Linked DNA regions of Homo sapiens: region 2 is linked to region 1. Evidence: promoter capture Hi-C in 16 types of primary human blood cells and fetal thymus (Javierre and others, 2016). All regions are on one chromosome and are shown on one strand. The core of a region is centred on a gene start or on the middle of the fragment in contact, and the rest is flanking DNA. Distances in the headings are between cores, read along the strand shown. Region 1 holds the start of MLYCD (malonyl-CoA decarboxylase). Region 2 overlaps MBTPS1 (membrane bound transcription factor peptidase, site 1).

Region 1 (7,051 bases), core at 252-2,751:
CGCCTAGAGAAAAAAGTATAAACACAGAGAAAAAAAAAACAGAAGCCAGAAATTACATAAAAAGGAAGGCACCGGGAAAGATGAGAAAGAACAGGGTTGTGGGAGTACTACACTTAGCAAATGCTTAAGCAAAGTCAAGCTTTCAAGACAAGATTCCTAAAGCAAGGCAGGAGTATCCTAGGACAGACAAAAGCTCACTCGACAAGGCAAAGAGACAAACACCAGAGTTTGGACCCCACCAACTCCCTTAGCCAGCTGGCAATATGGTTTCACCACTTCTTAGAAAAGAGGAATGGAGAGGTGTCCTCAAAAGCCACCACTAGGCTTTCAGAATGTTTTGTGTGTCTGTGTCTTGGCAGAATGAGCCAAACGTACTTTCTTCGTGCCCCATAAGATGAGACACACCCAGCAAAGGCTGTCCTCATACAGAACTACCTCCAGGTGTCTTTTATACTGCAAGACCTGCACCAAAGGGTTCTACCTATAGAAATCCTAGCACCTAGACATAGTCAACCAAGTACATGGCTCCCTCACCCTCCAACCAAAGATGCCATATTTCCATCAGAGTGGAACAAAATCCCACTGTGTTCCTAATGCCTCCTGCAATTTTGCATGTGGGAGACATGGCTGGTATGTGACATTCTCTTCTACAGATTGTAATGGATTGGGGAAGGAGGGGGAACTAGAGTTCAGGCCTATCTTTCTAGAGGACAAAATAAATATGCCTTGATAACTGCAATTATCTGAAAACTATTTCAAAGAAAACTCTTTGTCTCATTCTGGCATTTGCTCAAGGGTATGGCTTTCCATCAGTCTCTCTGTCTCCATGTCTCTTTTACATACATATGTATGTGTATATGCGTGCGTATGTGTACATACATCCATACATATAGACATATTCTCTCTCTCTCCACACACACTCACACACCCCTCCAACCTCTGTGGCTCTGAGCGTCATGTGTGTAAGACACTGACGCGAATGGTGAGTGCCTAGGCAGGGGTCAAACAAAGGCTACCTACCATGCCAGAGGATTGCCACAAACACCTCTTAAGCAAGCATATTCCTTGGCTCCTCCCAGACACACTGAATCTGAATCTCTAGGATTCTGATTTCGGAGCCCAGGAATCCTCCGGTGCAGGAGTTCCCAGGTGACTCTGATGCACCGGGAGGCTGGAGGCGCTCGGATCTAGAGAGGAGGCGGCACTTGTGCAGTGCAGTCGGGAAAGAGAGGAGGGGCTGGGCCGGTGCCTTTAGGCGGTCAGGTGTTAGGACCGGAGTACAAGCCGCCAGCCGCGCGGGAGCAGGCCCCGAGGCAGCCCAGCCGCGGGGCAGTAACCTTTAGCCACACTTGGCCTCCGGCCGCCGCCAGAGCCGCTCCGCCCCCGCCGCCTCGCCCCCACCGCCCCGCCCTCCTATTGGCCGCGTCCCCAGCCGGGCTCGCGGCCTCGGCCAATGGGGCCGGCGCGCGCCGGAAGCCGGAAGCGCGGCAGCGGCGGCGGCGCTCCCCCTCGGCAGCTGTTGTGGGGCACCATGCGAGGCTTCGGGCCAGGCTTGACGGCCAGGCGTCTCCTCCCGCTGCGGTTGCCCCCGCGGCCGCCCGGGCCCCGGCTGGCGAGCGGGCAGGCGGCCGGCGCCCTGGAGCGGGCCATGGACGAGCTGCTGCGCCGCGCGGTGCCGCCGACGCCGGCCTACGAGCTGCGCGAGAAGACACCGGCGCCCGCCGAGGGTCAGTGCGCGGACTTCGTGAGCTTCTACGGTGGGCTGGCCGAGACGGCCCAGCGGGCCGAACTGCTGGGCCGCCTGGCGCGGGGCTTCGGCGTGGACCACGGCCAGGTGGCGGAGCAGAGCGCCGGCGTGCTCCATCTGCGCCAGCAGCAGCGGGAGGCGGCGGTGCTGCTGCAGGCCGAGGACCGGCTGCGCTACGCGCTGGTGCCGCGCTATCGCGGCCTCTTCCACCACATCAGCAAGCTGGACGGCGGCGTGCGCTTCCTGGTGCAGCTGCGGGCCGACCTGCTGGAGGCGCAGGCCCTCAAGCTGGTGGAGGGGCCGGACGTCCGGGTAAGGGGCCGCCGTCGATCCCCCGGCAGCGCGGACTGGCCGCCCTCCTCGAGTAGTCCTCACTTGCCCCCTCCAAGTCCCACACACCCCGCCTTCCCTGCCCGATAGCACGCTCACTTCGCCCGCAGTTACCGCCTGCCAACTGTGTCCCCTTCCCACGCTGTCTGAGTCCTGGCCTCGTCAGAGCACACCCCCGCCTTCCTCCAGTCTGTCCTTGAAGTCCTCACTTGTATAGTGTTTACTAAATACTCAGCACTTGGTGGTCTTTAAGGTAGCTGTCACCTCTCGTACCTGATTAGTGTGTGCTCTACAGTCTTTTGAAATTATTGTAGCTGAGAAGTGTTTCATCTATATGGTATACCTGAACTAGAGCATCAGGCAGCCTTCTGAGACCCTGGATGGTGTTTCAGAAGTTCACTGGGCACCCGCTATGTGTGAGACATTGTCCTGAGAAGTCCTGTGAAATGCACAAAGGTAAATAGGACTCAAGGTCACCACCACCACCCAGGAGTCTCCATGGCTTCTGGCCTTGTCTGTGCTCCATGACTTTTGGGAGGGCATTTAACTCCCTGCGTTCAGTACTTAATGTGATGATTCTGAGTTGACTTGAGGTAATCAGGCATTAGCACAGTTCATTCATGTTAAATGCAGACACATACTTTGAGATTTAAATGATTATGACCCGAAAGAAGGCCTAGAGCAACATATACTCTTCTTTTATACTGTTAGTATTAAATACGGCGAAAAACTAACCTGCCCTTTTTTTATTTTTATTTTTGTTGCCCAGACTGGAGTACAGTGGTGTTATCACGGCTCACTGCAGCCTCGACTTCCCCAGGCTCAAGCAATCTTCCCACCTCAGCCTCCTGAGTAGCTGGGACTACAGGTGCAGGCCACCATGCCCGGCTAATTTTTTTTTTTTTTTTTTTTTTTTGTAGAGAGGGCGTTTCACCATGTGGCCCAGGCTTAACCTGCCCTTTTAATGAACGAAAAATGACGTAAATGTTTCAGGAAGTTTTGGACATTCAGAAGTTTGTTATGTGCAGTTGGTGTTAAAAAAAAATTGAACACTTGAATGATTATGACTTGACCCATTTAAGAACTCTAATACTGGTTTAATAGTTTACATTCCTTCAGTCTTACGTGGGTGATAACACGTATCCCTTTTACAGTAAAGGAGAACATGCTGAGGTTGTGTTACTTGTCCTGAAATTCAGAGCGAAAAGCTCTTGCTGATCACCCACCCTAATCCAGGGTTATTTGCACTACGCTTTATATCACTGTCTTACCGTTAATCAGATGTTTATTAGAAACTTTCTTTTTTGGCTACTTAGATGCATAAAATTGGGCATAATTAAGTATGGGATTAATGTCAAGAGTGACAACAGTGGCCATGATTTGATTCCCCGTGATAGCTGGTTAATTTACAGCGCTAAGTGTTACTGAGGGCCAGGCATCTTTGGCCGTAAGATTCTCAGACAGAAAGCCCACAGTTGCTAATTGCATGACACAGAATCAGTCATGAATTCTTACTGTGTTGAATTATCATGTTCTGGGCTCAAGCCTAGTCTGAATAGCTGAGTTTTTCTGATCCACACTTGGACATAGTACTTGCAGTATATCATCCCCCCATGTAAATGATCAGCTCCTCGAAAACTGGGAAACTTGTCTTTAAATTTCTTGCATAGCAGAATGATGAATGAATCATTGCAATAGATTCCTGGGTGTCCTGGCATAAGACACACTTGACACACTAATCATTCAGCATTTGTGTGGAGGTGAGTCTGCCCCACACTCAGTCATAGATTTTTGAGCCTGAGAGAAAGCCATGAAGGACTTGAAAGGTTTCTGCCCAGCTGAGAGGGTCCTCATATCAGACATTTGGACAGCTTTGTCCCTCATTGATTTCTCACATCCGGTCCAATTCTGAATTCTCTGGTTCTGTGAGATGCTGTGGAATACATCCTTTTGTTCTTCCCCACTCAAGAAAACTCTTGGTTATCGCGTCATTGGGAAGGAACACGTTGCATGGCAACTGAAGACACTCACATCCAGACTTGACTGTTGAGAGAAAGGAGCTGGCCCCTGGGAAATACAGAGGCTGCTGAGTCCTTAGACATTCACAAGTTTCCTTGCTTTTTGACCAAGGCTATTTACAGAAGGGAAAAAAACATTGCATACTGTAATGCTAGGCCAAAAGTCCTGTGGACCAGAGGTGTTTATCAAACAGAATGAATAACGACAGTCTGATCTTTGCCTCTGCATATGGTTTGGACATAATGGCTTCAGGAGCCTTTCTGTGATTGCTTTATTGTGCCCCTTCCATTTCTTTACCTAGAAACCCCAGCCTTATATTCAGTGCATGTAACTGTTAGTAGCTGAACCTATTAATTCCCTTCCCCTTCCCTTGTTCTACGTAGTTGTTTTCTCATATATACACATATATATGTATGTGTATATGTGTGTGTGTGTGTGTGCGTGCGTATATATATATATATATATATATATATATATATATGGTTTTTTGTTTTGTTGTTTACGGTTTTTTGTTTGTGTTTATTTTTTTGTTCATGTTTATGTTTTTTCTTGTTACGTTTCCCAGGCTGGTCTTGAACTCCTGGCCTCAAGCAAGCAATCCTCCAATCCCAAGTGCTGGGATTATAGATAGGTGTGAGCCCAGATGTAATTTTTTTAAAATCCCTGTCGCTTAAATCAGTCTTAGAATAGAATTAGATTGTTCTGTACCTATAAACTATCAACTGGGATCTGATATTGTAACCTCTCACCAGAATCACTTAATGTGGTATGATCTGATCTATTTTTTTAATCTGATTTTTTTTTTTTTTTTTTTGAGACAGAGTCTTGCTCTGTTGCCCAGGCTGGAGTGCAGCAGCACAATCTCTGCTCATTGCAACCTTCGCCTCCCAGGTTCAAGCCATTCTCCCACCTCAGCCTCCTGAGTAGCTGGGAATACAGGTGCTTGCCAACACATCTGGCTAATTTTTGTATTTTTAGGAGAGATGGGGTTTTGCTATGTTGGCCAGGCTGGTCTGGAACTCCTGACCTCAGATGATCCGCCCGCCTTGGCCTTCCAAAGTGCTGGAATTACAGGTGTGAACCACTGTGCCTGGCTGTGTTCTTACTTTTTAAAATGTTCTTTTCCTCTGATCTGAGTGAGTTTGGAGGCTTGTTACTGCCTGGATTTGTGGCCTCCTGAATGTAGAGGAGTTTGGAGGTATGTGTGTCCCTGTGGTTGCATGGTAGGTGTGGGTATGAGGATGTGATGTGTCTGGGGGATGGTGGTTTATAGGCTTTTTGTTTTTCTCCAGAGGCCCAGTTGGTTGATGACTTCAGTTTCTTAGAGGTGAAATCCCAGTGAAACCGAGTCGAATCCCCAGTAGAGGGGAAGGTCTGAGCGAGGTTCAGTGATTTGTGGGCACTCGAGGAAGGTTGGCCTTTAATTCATGGAAAGGGTTCCTCATGGGCAGTTTGGACCTTGCTGTTAGGGTGGAATGAGAGGTGCTCCAACCTTAACAGAGGCACAGAAACTAGAGAAGGGACCTGGTTCCCACTGCCACAGCCACCCGGCCATGCTAGACACCTGCGTACCCTCTGCCTTTTAGTTAATTGAGTACTCCTTGTTGGTTCTAGTAAATTCTGTGCTTACCTATGCTAAATAATACTTATTTTTAGATAGGACAGTATACCCATAGCATCAAGTGTACACCTGCGGAGTGTCAGCTTACGTGAGTGGGAATTTTCCCCAAATTTCTCAGCCTCTGCAGTGCTACCCTCATCCATGACTTTATCCTCCCTTCCCCAGAGCAGGGCTTCTGGACAAGGGAAGGTAACTTTTCTTCACATACCAAAATAAGCAGATCTTGATAGAGCTTCAAAAGAGAGGGAACCAGTTTCTCTTTTAAAAGGAAAAGTGGGCTGGTCTAAACGGTGTCATACAAGTCAATGGAATTAACAATACACAATACACAGAGCCGGGTGCAGTGGCACGCACCTGTAGTCCCTGCTACTTGGGAGGTTCAGCTGAGCCCGGAAGTTCAAGTGCAGCCTAGGCAACAGAGCAAGACCTGCCTCTGAAAAAAAAAATAAGAAACACTCCAGCAGAATCCACTGAGAACTGTCGCTGCCCTTAGCATCACCAGGATATTCCCCGCAGTTGTGTTTCTCAGTCTTGTATTGGTGATAAATGGTGCCTGAATTAACGCACGTACAGTTGCAGAGGCCTCTTTCCCTGGTGGTGTTTGTATCCTGGCAACGTTGCCGCGTGCTGTGGCTCATCCCAGCCTGAACAGCTGCTGCCGGTGTTAGAACTGAGCAACGGAGACTTCTAACCTTTAGCCTGGATTCCCAGTTCTCGTGTACCAGTGTCACATTTTGTAGCTGTCAGGAGCCCAAAATAGAATGAAGAGATCTGTAGGGGAGGAGCTTTCATCAGCCAAACCATTTCTTTCATAATTAATATTAAATTGATAGTAAAACTAGGTATTTCCAGCTTTTTTCATATCACGAATGTAAGACAGATACCAGTACCTCTTACGCAGAGCTCAGCTCATCCGTTCCTAAACTGGGGTACAGAAGCCCTCCTGGCCCCTGGGATGGTCCATAGATAAGTATCAGAGGAGTCCATGTACCCCAGGAAAACGTATGCACAATTTTACTAATGTATTTGCAGTGTTTTGGGGGCAGGGCCTATGGTTTTTAGCACGTAAGAGTGTGAGAGGATCCCAGGAAGATTAAGAATTGCTATAGTCAAATGCAGAAAGTACAGTTTTACAAAGGGCCATTCTGTGTCACCTAGCAAATGATCTCTTTCATCCTGCCCTCTTGCTACTTCCTAATCACGATTCATTCCATTTTTCCATCTTTTTCATTTGATATCAATCTATTAGTGAATGCTTTGCGAACTATAAAAATGAATCAGAAGTGGATCCTGCTTTTATGGCGTTTACAACCAAGTAAAGGAGATTGAGTCAT
Region 2 (6,751 bases), core at 1,186-3,685, 200 kb after region 1:
ATATAAAATTAAGTTTATGGTAGGAAGAGAAGCAATGTAATGATTAAGATTATGTTTTTAAAGGTTTTTAAAAGACCAGGTACTTATATTTTCTCATATACACCAAAGAAATTCTACGAGGAGGTATAAGAAAGGAACATCATCACACAGGACACACGGGCCAGTGAGGAAAGAACCTGCTGGACGGGGACAGGGGTGGGGGTCTCACTGTGTTACCTTCTGACATTTCTGAGCTATGCATTACCTATTCAAAAATTAACCTTAAAAAATAAATAACGAAAAAAGAAACAAATACTAGGACCCTCTCCCTTTTCTATAGTTTCCAAATGAAGAGTGAAGGAACAAGGCTTGTAAACTCCCATTACCCAACACAATGCCAGGTGTCGGGACACAGAGGTAAATAAAACAGCTCAAGGTGGTAGGAACCCAATCAGGGAGGCAAGCACACTTATTCTATCTGCAATTGTTCTGTTCTATCATGCAGACAACCGACCCAGGGTACAGAGGCCTGGGGAAGCCTGGAGGTAGAGAAGAAACAAGGGAAATCAAAGAATCGTCGTAAGTAGTAGCCTCGGCAGGGTCTTCAGGGTTCAACTTAGGTCGACACAGTGGTTGGTGGGAGAAGGGCGGAGCCACCCAGGAGGCAGAGGAACAGTAAACTGAGCATGCGTGCTGCAGTATGAATGGCTCAGCGTCACTGACGTGCACTCCTTTTACACAAGTGTGTACAGTCCAGTGATTCTGCTTTTTACATTTCAGTATGAATTCCTCAAGTTTCAGGAGTCCTCAAAACACCTACCTGATTATTGGTAAAGACCCTGAAAATGTGAAGTTCTGCATCTGGAGCAAATCCTTGGCACTCCCTCATGCTGGCTATCACACCTGCCACGAATGTGCCATGGCCCAACCCTGCAGTCCATAAAGAAAACAATCCCATAAAACACACTGAATAGCAAGTGCCAGGACGCAACATTCCAGGCCATGAGTTCCACGGCCTTCCATTTCCAAGTGCTGGATAGAGGAGGGCCTCTGCTGCTGCTCTACGATCCCCTTAGACGTCACTGGCACAAGCACCCCTTCCAGGTCTAGCCACTCCACGCTCTCCGGGACAGGGAGCTGCCCCCACACCAGGCATGCCCACTCTCTCCTGAAGTGCTACCTCCCGACATCCTATGAGGTATTCAGAGCAGTTTCTGCCACAACAAAAAGCACAATAACACCTTGGGCTTGTCTGAATAATTGCTGGACAGACTGTGGAATCATGCACTAAACACACTCTCAGTCGATCACATGACCACGTTCTCACTGCTGCTGAGACCCACCATCGTCCAGCGTTCGCTCGTTGGTCCAGTTGGTTCTCTCCTTCACATTTTTGAAGTGGGGATGCTTCTCGCTCAGCCCAGTGTCAAAAACAGCAACTCTTACATTAGCACCTTATTCGGAAAAGAAAGCAAACACAATTATGTTTGAAGAAATCATCATTTTGGATTTTGCCTATAAAATACATTCCTTCCTGGGACCCACAGAAAATGACATATTGTGGAAGGCCAAAGCTGCTCAGAGCAAATAAGTTAGGTCAGCTGCTCCCAGGGTCAGCTGGCTGAGCCAAGGCTAAGAAAAGAGGACAGCAGGAGCAATGCCATCATCTGCCGCCAAATAAGATTTAAGGATAAGCAGAAAATCCTTCTAGACCCTCCTCAATTGCCACCAGCACTCAGGATAGAACCACCCCTTCCACTCCTAGCGGGCTTCTCAAGGCTCCAGGCTGGCACCTACTGATACTCCCCTTCTGGCAATTTATCACAGGTCTCCACCCCCCACCTTCTCGGAGGCCCTGCAAAACACTCACAAACCACACACCCAAGGAGCGGGACACAAAAATGGGAAAAGGGGGAACCATTCCTATTCCCAATAAGGACAGCAATTTATTCAATGCTGCTCATTTATAATACAGCAAACTCTGCCGCAAGGAACAATTAACACCACATGCGGCTAATCACACCTAAGAAAAATCACTGCAGTGTGCACTTTTCTATAATAGTAAGTCTATTCCAGATACTGGCCAAAGCCATCAACACCAATGTGAAATACAACTGGCCTGTCTGACCAAAAATTCTAGAAAGCATCTAGAAAAAAAATACAGAATACCTATATGACTTAACAGCTAACCAATGTAAAGAGGGTAATGTCTTTCTGGCAAAAGGGCTGTGTACATATCAATACTATGTTAAATAATCTATTAAACTGAGATAAATATAAAAATCAATGCTACTTTTAAAAAATGCACACACAAAATCAGAAATCATTTGGTTTGGGGGGAATAAAAAATTATTTCTCATGACTAGAAAATTTGTTTTGTCAAGGAGTTCTCATAAAAAGGTAAAACCATGGGGAGACACACATTTTAATGAAATGCCAGTCCACCGGGTATTAAAAGTTGAAGTATCTCAGATATTTTGGAGGGCAGGGCGCCAAGGAGATCAAAGGAGAGGTAAGGGTCCCTAAGTCAAGGATATACGAAAGACACCGAGGCAAACTGCGCTGTCCTGGGAGCAGGTGAAACTGGCTTACATTTAGAAGTCAAGGTAAAAATCTTCACATTAGATAAAACATGAAGGTTTGGTCATGATGAATCAGCAAGGGAAAAATCCTTATTGTTCTGAATTTTATTTCACAGGACATGATCATTAACACTGCTTCCTGTTCTGAAACAAATCATCAGCAGGTGTGATAGTCAATTACTTAGTCACTCTGCATTCAGGACACCAAACTCAAGTGATAAACTAATTTCCGTGGAATTGCCCAGATCAGGGACCATCTTTCCCCAAGAAGTGACAGACTTCTGCAGGCCTGTCGGTCAGCGCCAGTGGCCGGCAGCGCTGTGCTCGTTTGTGTATGTGTCAATAGGAGAGAAGTGCTCCACAGCCTTCCCTTCTAACCTCAGAAATGGTAACAAAAATAAGACACAAATGGTGACAATTAGGAAAGCCACAGAAACAGATGCCTGGCATCACAGGAGTCAAAGATGAGGAGTACTTGGCTACCTCCAGCTAAACAAATAGTAAGAAGGTTAGATGTGGAAGGCTGCAGGGCTTTAGCACTAGGCAGTCCCGAACATGGAATTCCTGCATGTCTGGACTTTCCGCGCCTTCCCTGGGTAATAGCACACACCTGTATATCCCATAAGCACCTTCCCTGGGTAATAGCACACACCTGTATATCCCATCTGCCAGAGCACATCTGCCTGCAGTGTCTGGGCAACCTGGCGCGGGATGGCTCTCAGCAGCCGTCTGCTCGAATGCCTTCCCGTAGCATGCCAGAAGCCAGAGCCCAGGGAGAGGCTGGCTCTTCGCAGGGGACGTGATGATTGCCACTTCTGGCTCCACCGGGTTTCATTGCAGGGTACTGTGGGGTCAGCTACAGGCAAGGGAGAGAAAGATCAGAACAGAAGAGCAAAACGAACTACACGATACCCGCCAGGCAAAACTATCCTAAACACAGGGAGGATTACCATTTGCCACTCTGTTTGAAGGAAAGTGGGATTATCTTCTTTTTCTGGAAGGACAGTCTCAATGCAATTATAATTATAGGACGTTATTTAGCTGTCATATTACTCCCAAATAGTTCTCTACTTGAAATTTTCTAACCAAGGTAAGGCAAAGAAAGACTGATTAAATTAAATAATAATAATTTTAAAAAGCTAATTGTGATAATAAAAATAAAGAAAAACCTGATTTTCATCAGCAACTTGTTCTCACTGAACCAGAAGGGGGAAAAGTTAAAGAAAATGACCCTAAGCATTCATTGAGTTTTATTTTTACTATAAGTTTCACTAGATTTCTTGGGCAGGCAAAAGCCATCAAATATCAACAGGACTTAAAACAACTGTATATTGCTCAATATTCTCAATATTCTTATCTGCTAGAATTTCACCTTTCAAAAACAAAAGGACTACACAGGAGTGAGAGACAGGGAATTTCTGAGGGTGATGGAATTATTCCATATCTTGATTTTGTTGGTGGATATTTGATGGTATACTTTTGCCAAAACTTGCCAAACTATACTCTAAAAAGGACGAATTTTACTATCTGTAAGTCTCTTTATTTTTAAAAAGCGGAGGAAAAAGGCAGTACCACAGAAATGGCCTAAGGGTTTTCCCTTAACCTTTCAAAGACCATGTTATAATGAACAAGTCATATTTCAAATCAGTTTTAAGAAGAGAAAATCTGTAATACCAATACAGTTCTCTTTCTAAAGCAAATCACTGTCATTTTTATTCTAGCCTTACCAACCTACACCCATGTTAAGTACAGGGACCTGGAAACACATACAGTCACGTCAATTCTGGTAAGTAAATATTTGCACAGTCCAACTGAAACGGTTCTTAATTGAAATTCCTCTGCTGAGTCTGATCTTTAAGTCAACAGCATGGGACAATGCTGCAGGTGCTGACTGAAGAGCAACACTGAGACCAGGAATGGGCCTGCTCTGCTTGACCCTGCACAGGCCAGACTCCACCTCCAGTATTATACTCAGTTCAGGGCTTCACAGCTTTCAAACAATTTAGAAAAATTAGTACATTCAAAGGAAAACACTTAAAATGATGAGGGGACTTGAAATCAAGTCACCTGAGTAACTATGGCAAGAACTGAGGATTAGCCTGGAGAGAAAAAATTGCCAAAAGGGACACACCATGGGTATCTTCAAATATCAAAAAGACAGCTATCTTCACCACATCTTTAACTACTGTCACGCAGAAAACAGATAGGCTTTGTCTTATGGCCCATGGGATAGAACCAAATGGGTGGGATGCAGAGTGAGAATGGTGTCAGCCCAAAATAAAGCAAAACCTTCTACGAGTAACAGCCAGAGAAACTGTTAACATTTGGTTACTTACAACATCTTGAACACTCTACTAAGCTTTCTTCATATGCATTATTTCATGTTATCTTCATGACAGCCCCACGAGGTAGGGAGTATCATCTCCATTTTATGAATGAGAAAAACTGAGGCTTCAAGATGGAAAAGACGCTTACTGCTGAAGGTCACAGCTAACTTCAAGGGGCATGGGAACGCAGTGGGCAAGTCTCCCCTCACAGGGGTGTCAGGCACCCGGAACACACGCAGTGGAGATGGTGTCCATGGGAATCCCATCTCCAGAGAGTCTAGGATTCTTGTGCTAAAATTAGGCAACTCCGTGTCTCCTAAAGCATTCTAGAGCTCTTTAAGATAACTGAAGTAAAAAATAAAGTCAACTAAAATACCGCAATGTATACATTTGGCTAACTGTATCAGGTTTGATTGGCTTTTATCTTCCTGGATTATTTTGAAGTGTTACTGCTTTTTAAGGAGAATAATACATAACATCTGGAGTAGCAGAAAAGGCTCTGAAAAAGTCAGACGCCTTAAGTTTACACCTGGTTTTACTATGAAAATTAAACTTCTCTTCGTGTGTGTGTGTGTGTGTGTGTGTGTGTGTGTGTTTGTGTGTGTGTTTAATGCAGCAAAACCTCAGAGGCTCTTAGGCCTAAAATATGATAGACAAAGAAGAGTAAAATTTTAATTTCTTCTTCCTTCTGATGAAAGAAATGATCGTAAATAATAACAGAACTAGAAATTTGTTAACCTGATTTAAGATAAACAGGGAAAAAAAACCCTTTTCCTTTGGTAACACATATCTTTGGAAAATATCATTTAATAAATATGCAATTTACTATTTGAGACTAAACTCTATTTTGACAAGCCCAATTGTAATGAAGTAGGAAAGACTAAGCCCTGGAGAAGAAAAGGAAAAGCCAAGTTGCTTCCATGCTCACACCTGCACAGCTGATGACTTCAACGAACCCAGCTGATGCATGACCATTCCTGGTCAGGAGGCTTTGACAAAAACAAAACGAAACCCCAGGAAAACATGTTTTGCAAGAGTGCCTTTAAAAATCGGGCTGGGTGCAGTGACTCACGCCTGTAATCCCAGCACTTTGGGAGGCTGAGGCAGGCAGATCACCTGAGGTCAGGAGTTCAAGACCAGCCTGACCAATATGGAGAAACCCTGTCTCTACTAAAAATACAAAATTAGCCAGGCATGGTGGCGCATGCCTGTAATCCCAGCTACTTGGGAGGCTAAGGCAGGAGAATCACTTGAACCTGGGTGGAGGTTGAGGTGAGCCAAGATCGCGCCACTGCACTCCAGCCTGGGCAACAAGAGCGAAACTCCGTCTCAAAAAAATAAATAAATAAAAAGGAAAAGAAAAAATAAAACACACACTGAGAGAAGCGAAATGCAAGGAAGAAGCAGACACAAGGACGCGTCTTTCAGCACGAGAAGGCGGCCGCAGCCTTGAAGTCTGAAGGCTTTGAGATGAAGCTGGCGAAAATCGCTTCCAACAGAAACAAAGATCACTACCATCTACTACTGCAAACCCTCAGATTTTCTTCTACCAGAACAGTACGAAGTCTCTTTTTAAAAAATAATTCTGCCCCCCCAACACCGACCCTGCGCACTAAACAAAACTAAACTAAAAAATTCCTACCAGGAAAATGTTCACAATTAGCAAACTAGATGGAAGGATGCGGATACTCACTGTACTATTTTTCAACTACTCTGCAGTTTGAGATTTTCAAAGTAAACAGCAGAGAGAAATTTGCCTACAGTCACAATACTCACATTCAGCATACTTGAGGGAACGAAAGACTTTTCGTTGGGGCGTGACCCGTTTGATGTTTGGATGATCTTCAAGTGTTAGCAGCCCCG

What was found. The method cuts DNA at HindIII sites, captures the fragments that hold promoters and counts their contacts. A CHiCAGO score of 5 or more calls a contact.
Region 2: a contact is called between a fragment that was not itself captured here and the fragment with the promoter of MLYCD in region 1, in 1 of 17 cell types (neutrophils). The highest score is 5.7, in neutrophils.

The regions. Positions count from the first base shown.
Region 1 is chr16:83,897,614-83,904,664 of GRCh38, forward strand. It overlaps MLYCD (malonyl-CoA decarboxylase), which reads left to right and starts at 1,502. Exons shown (of 5, transcript NM_012213.3): 1 at 1,502-2,059. The coding sequence starts at 1,532. RefSeq lists silencers at 1,272-1,701, 2,002-2,171. The HindIII fragment of the contact is 8,175 bases long and covers 138-7,051 here.
Region 2 is chr16:84,092,389-84,099,139 of GRCh38, forward strand. It overlaps MBTPS1 (membrane bound transcription factor peptidase, site 1), which reads right to left. Exons shown (of 23, transcript NM_003791.4): 3 at 6,665-6,751; 4 at 3,214-3,417; 5 at 1,323-1,433; 6 at 800-909. Among named protein-coding and RNA genes, the nearest start is that of MBTPS1, 21 kb to the right of the region's middle. RefSeq lists an enhancer at 1-360. The HindIII fragment of the contact is 4,965 bases long and covers 1-4,918 here.